2 separate regions of the Homo sapiens genome follow, and region 1 is linked to region 2. Evidence: promoter capture Hi-C in 16 types of primary human blood cells and fetal thymus (Javierre and others, 2016). All regions are on one chromosome and are shown on one strand. The core of a region is centred on a gene start or on the middle of the fragment in contact, and the rest is flanking DNA. Distances in the headings are between cores, read along the strand shown. Region 1 overlaps AUTS2 (activator of transcription and developmental regulator AUTS2). Region 2 holds the start of AUTS2 (activator of transcription and developmental regulator AUTS2).

What was found. Contacts are between HindIII fragments. The CHiCAGO score rates a contact against its expected background, and 5 or more counts as called.
Region 1: a contact is called between a fragment that was not itself captured here and the fragment with the promoter of AUTS2 in region 2, in 1 of 17 cell types (fetal thymus). The highest score is 6.3, in fetal thymus.

What each region holds. Positions count from the first base shown.
Region 1 is chr7:70,697,693-70,700,478 of GRCh38, forward strand. It overlaps AUTS2 (activator of transcription and developmental regulator AUTS2), which reads left to right. Exons shown (of 19, transcript NM_015570.4): 6 at 877-928. Among named protein-coding and RNA genes, the nearest start is that of GALNT17, 430 kb to the right of the region's middle. RefSeq lists an enhancer at 2,269-2,786. The HindIII fragment of the contact is 1,862 bases long and covers 450-2,311 here.
Region 2 is chr7:69,596,890-69,599,809 of GRCh38, forward strand. AUTS2 (activator of transcription and developmental regulator AUTS2) reads left to right here and starts at 1,586. Exons shown (of 19, transcript NM_015570.4): 1 at 1,586-2,920. The coding sequence starts at 2,765. It overlaps CT66 (cancer/testis associated transcript 66), which reads right to left and starts at 735. Exons shown (of 3, transcript NR_148927.1): 1 at 158-735. RefSeq lists enhancers at 756-835, 2,016-2,065 and silencers at 1,146-1,565, 1,586-1,665, 2,830-2,899. The HindIII fragment of the contact is 6,527 bases long and covers 1-2,920 here.

The DNA.
Region 1 (2,786 bases), core at 131-2,630, 1.1 Mb after region 2:
AACAGCACAAATATAGCTTGGCCATTATAACTTTAAATGCAGATATATCCTCACGTTATGTAGTGGAGATGCTTAATTTTTATTTTTTCAAGTTCTAGAAATATTCAGTGCTGAAACATTACAGCATTTTCCTTCAAACCGACTTCCATGTTTATTTTCCAGAACATTAGTGTATAATTTAAATTGGCTTTAGTTTTACTGTTTAAACAGGCTTATTTCACCTTCCTCAAGCCACTGTAATAATTAGCAGACATGTTCTCTAGAAAATGGAAAGGAAATAATGCTGGTGGCATGCATAGTGGTCGGATTTTGGGGCAGGCCGGCTTGCATCTTTTTGAACACCAAGGTCGTTTGGTTACTGCAAGGGACAGGGATCTTGGAGTCATCAGATGAATCTTAAAAAAAAATTAATTTCTGGCAGTGTTGGCTTACACTTTTTAGTGAGGAAAAGCTTAGCATTAAATAATAGGCATTTCTGATTTGTGAAAGAAAATTGAAAAATTGGCATGTCTGCAAATACCACGAAAAACATAACATTTCCAAAATAATGATCTGTCAACGAAATTGCAAAATCATTATGTGAATGAGCTGAATTGCTTTGTGTATCATCTCATAGAAATATGTTTTGCACAGATAATGTGTCTAATAAGGACACATTTTTAAAATCAGATTTTTTTCCCCCCAGCAAATAGCTGCACTGCAGGTCTCTCTCAAGCAGTCAACTAGCACCACCTTATGGATGATTTGGGGACATTGCTGCTTCCCTGCTAGGCTTTCGTAAAATGTAGTCAACTGATTTAAAATAATGGGAATGTTGATGGTGATGACAATATTAATGACAATAATAATGCTTTTTTCCCCCTTCTTGTTTTTCAGGCATCAGATGCCAGCTCTGAAAAACTCTTCAACACTGTTATTGTAAACAAAGGTAAGACCCATTCATTCTCCTGAGTAATGGCTTATTTTTATGTTAGTTTCATTGTCATTGCCTAGGAAGAAAGAAGAGCTAGAGTGATCTTTCTCTTATAATTCTGAAGCTACTGTTGATGTTTCATGTTTTTGCTTGAGATGGAAGTCTGCATACTTTGTGATGCATTAACATTAACAACCAGTTTATTTTAAAAGAATACATTGAGTCCCTATTTAAACTGATTTGACTAATCACTACTACTATGTGACTTTAATATAGAAAGCTGTACTCGAGAAGAATAGTTCTCAAAATGCCTGAACTTTATTGTTACTTATCAACTACCCAGCAATAGGAGAAATATAAATAGCTGATGTGCATTGCAGACTCCAGTAATCAATGGATGTTTAGAATTCACAGTATTATGGTCATAAACCAAGCCTTACTCTGCTGTGGGCTTTCTGTAAAGTTAATAAACGAGCGAGAGGGCAGAATTTAAATATGCACTATCCCATTAATTTCTTCCAAACCACGATCTAGAGTAAGAGAGGCTAATGATATAGCAGTACATTAAGGGAAAACTAACCTTAAATCATTGCCAGTAGGTTTCTGCGCAGCTTTCATTTGTTAGCAGTATCGTTGGAAATAAGGAAATTTAGGGGAGTCTGTAATCACTGGCTCTGAAAGGTGTGTAATTTGAAAGGGACAAACCATATAAACTATTTAATCTTCCCCTTTCCACTGTCGAGCCTGATTTAGGGGCTGGCATGATAATTGCTAAGTAAAGATGTGCTTTCTGTGATAATCTCTTTCTGGGTTACATGGGCGACACTTGGTAGCACTTGAACAGACTTGGGCCTTCACAAAGTGAAATTTGAGACCATTTCAGCCTTCTGTAGTTGCCTTGGCTAGCATTTTTGCTAGCTGGTTAGTAAGACATTTCCAAGTGCAGTTATTTTGAGCTCCCAGATTATTTTAGAATTTGAACCAATTGCAATTTTAAATAGTACATTATGTTTAGAGTTCCCTTGAGGTGTATGTGATTGCCGTTACTCCCAGAATTACTGTCATATTGAATTTTATCTTTTTTTATTGCATAATGGAGTATTCCAGTTTTATATTTCATCATATTTTCTGATGGACTGAAAGTTTGTATAAATGTGTTATCCATAATGCTAAAAGCCCAATAAAAGAAGATGTGTGCCATTCATAGCATACAGTACTCGTGTGTAAAAATGCACAATTGTCTACCACTTGGCGTTTCCTTGTGAGAAAGGAGGGTGATGGGAGAGGGAGACTGGGGTAGAGGGCAGGTCACCAAAGGCAGGGCTTCTTCGTTTCTGCAGCCCCCCAGGACCTCTGCCACATGTGACTGTGTCTGTCTTCTGCTGATTTGCTACTGAAAGCTTTGGAATGTATTTCCCCTTTCTGGGATCAGGCCCTAGAATAAGAGTTGGCTCCAAGACCTGCACTCTGGCCGCCACTGCCCTGAAAGATTGTCTTCAGGGCGGATGAACAGCTCGCCTCTGCCTCTTCCCTCTGGTTCTTTCCCCCCCTTTTTTTCCTTTTCCAATCAAACGTTTCCCACATTCTTATTTTTGTTTACTTACAGAGTGTGATTTGTGGCATCTATTTGGTTGTGAATAGCCCTCCCCCTGACAGGGTGCCTTTCTTCTGAGCTGCTTTTCTAGGGGTGATTTAGTTGCCTTGAAAGGATTAAGGTTTCTTTGTGTACACTAAAATCAACATAGGCTTTTTCTAAGCTTTGCTTGGGAAACCATACACAAATAAGCATTTTAGTTGATGGCAGATTATTCCTTTGCCCCTTATTTCCATCAAAATGGCCTTTCTTTTCTCCTCCAGAGTTTCCCCTTAATGC
Region 2 (2,920 bases), core at 336-2,835:
ATGTGTCAGATTGTGAGAGAAAACACGTCCTTACTGTTTTCTCTACCACCCTCCTTCCAGTAATACTAATAAAATGTGCACATTTGTATTCTAAAGAGGTGAAATCATATACACAGCGCTCTAGCACGGTGCCTGGCCCATTGTAATTAATACATGCCAGTTTATTTTCCTTTTCTTCCTCCACAAGTATGGGCTACTAGGGAGGACGAAGGGTTGGTGCCGTGGTGTTTATGTGCCTGGACAGAAAGTGAAGCGTATCCAAGAGGCTGCTGAGAGCGGGCTGTCGGTCTTTCTGATCCGTATAGATCAATTCCAGTGCCCTGAAAAACGCACAGCTATTTTACCCAGAGAGGCTGGTCGCTTTTGTTGATCGATTCTCGGCTGCAGTCAGCTCTTTAATACAACTTTTTATGAGCATCAGCCACATTGCGGCGGGAGGAGGGGCTGTGGTGGAAAAAGCAGGGAAACCGCCCCCCACTCCCAAAAAGTAAAGGAAGCCCGCGGGGCAGGGACTGCGGTTTGCCGGTCTAACGGGTCCTCGAGCTGGGGCGGCGGTCCCGGCCCCTTCGGCCCCGCCCCTCGCCCGCGGCCGCCTCCGAGGTTCAAGTTCGGCCCCCGGCTGTTAGGCCTCGCGCTCCCGGATCTGAAGCCGCCCGTGCGTCCCTAGGTCCCCCGCTGGAAGACGAGGCGGGAATCCCAGGGGTCATCCGGGCGCGGGGTCGCTCGTCCACGCACTGTGGTGCCACGTGGAGGAAAAGTTTCCAACTCTGCCAGTTGGTGCTCCCACTGCGCCCAGGCGGAGCAAAGGCCCGCGCTTTGGCACCCGCTCCCCGTTCTGTCTCCTCCAGTCGCGCCCCCTCCCAGGGACGCCCCCCTTGTACCCCTTCTCTGAATTCCCTTCTCTCCTCGCAGCGCAGGTAGCCAAGGGAAAACACCCTTGGGGGCTGGTGGGGCTTCCCGAGAAGGCGGCCTCGGGCCGGCCAGGGGTAGAGGATCCAGGGACAAGTGTCCCGAGGAGGATGTGGGGGGCGCGCGCGCGAAGTGGCCTGGGAGCAGGGGCCCACACGCGTCCCCGCTGCGACAGGCGGGATCCTCCGGCGGCTTCCACGCCCTGGCGCGCCAACTCTGCCCGGCCGCGGCCGACCCCACGCGGGCGCCCCCTCCACGCCCCCGCCCCCGCCCCCCTCACAGCTCCCCACCGCCCCCAGTGCGCAGGCCCGGCCGCCCCAGCGCGCATGCCCTGGGCTCGCGAGCGCGGCCAGCCCCCAGCCTTTTGCTTTCTACACACTCTACAACTGGGGAGGGGGCGGGGGAGGAGGGAGCCCAGCCGTCCACGTGATCCCGCCGGCCGGGGCCGCGGGGGCGGGAGCGCGCGCCGAGAGAGGCGCGGGGAGGGCGGGTGCGCGGGAGCGCGCGCACTCGAGCGAGCGAGCGAAAGCACGAACGAGCGAGCGAGCGAGCGAGCGAGCGGGCGGGCGCGGGGTTGGGCTGAGGCGGGCGGCGGCGGCGGCGGCGGCGGTGGGCTGGCCGCGGAGGGGGAGGAGCGGGAGCTGCGCGAGGCAGGCGGGCGGGCGGAGGATGGGGCAGTGCCCGGGCTCCCGCTGCAGCCGCCCGGGGACACGCCGTGCACCCTCCGGCTCGGGGCTTTCTCGGCGGCGGCGGCGGCAGCAGCAGCAGCGTTAGCGGCGGCGGCGAGAGCAGCGTTCCCGGCTGCGCTTCTCCCTCAGGCGGGGCGGCGAGAGAAGCGGCGGCGGCGGCGGCGGCACACCGGTGTCTCTCCCGCTGGAGATTTCTTTCTGCTTTCCTCATCGACTGACTGACTCACCCCCTCCCTTTTTTGAGGAAGGGTGACCTCTTCTCTGGGACTGGAAAAAATATTTTTGTGAGGAGGGGGGCGGGTGGCAGCGACAGGGTTTGCTTCTTCTCTTCTTTCATCTCCCTCTCCTCCCCCCTCGAAGACCGAAAAGCAAACCCCACAACTGCTCCAGCAGCATCCTCCTTCCCTTCCTCCGCCTCCCTTCTCCTCCGCCGCTCGCAGTTTCGCCCTCTCTTCCGCTAATGATTGCATTATTATGCTCCCCTCTCTGGGGGGTCTCGCCCCTCTTGGGTCGCTCCGGAGCCCCGGCCTCCCCTGGCTGCATTTCTTAAAAATTTGGGAGCCTGGGAGTGAGTTTTCTCCGAGGCGTGTGTGAGAGGCGGCGGGGGTGTTTTCCTGCGCGAGGGGCGGGTGAAGTTCATTGCCCCCACTTTTCCCGCGACCTTTTTCGGACCCGATTTTGGATCGAGTTGAGGGGGGCGCGGGCGTTTTCGGGGGGCGGGGGGCGCGGCGGAGAATGGCCGCGGGGAGGGCTCCCCGGAGCCTCCCAGTCTCTTGATCAAAGCATTCCGCTATTCTGATTTATTGCTTGCTTGGTGAGTTATTTTTTTTTCCTCTAAAGGAGACCTGTGTGTTCAGCCATTACTTTGCTCGGCGCTGCTCCCAGGCATCTCCGACCCTCGGTGCTGTGGGGAGCCCCACACTTGGGCTCCTCGCCTCTCGCCCTCGCTCCCCGTCCCTCCTCCCCTCTCTCCGCCCCTTCCCCCTTTTCTTTCTCCTCTCTTTCTTCCCCTCTCTCCCTTCTTTCGGCCGCCGTCTCCCCCGCGCCCTCCTCGGGGCGGAGGGAAGCCGTGAAGGGGGAGGGAGGGCTCGGTGTCAATTTTTTTTTGTGTGGCTGCGGCCGTAGCCTGTGGCGGGCAAGCGGGGAGACCCCGGCGCAGCAGAACCATGGATGGCCCGACGCGGGGCCATGGACTCCGCAAAAAGCGGCGGTCGCGGTCGCAGCGAGACCGGGAGAGGCGCTCCCGGGGCGGGCTGGGGGCCGGCGCGGCCGGCGGCGGCGGGGCTGGCCGGACCCGGGCGCTCTCACTCGCCTCGTCGTCG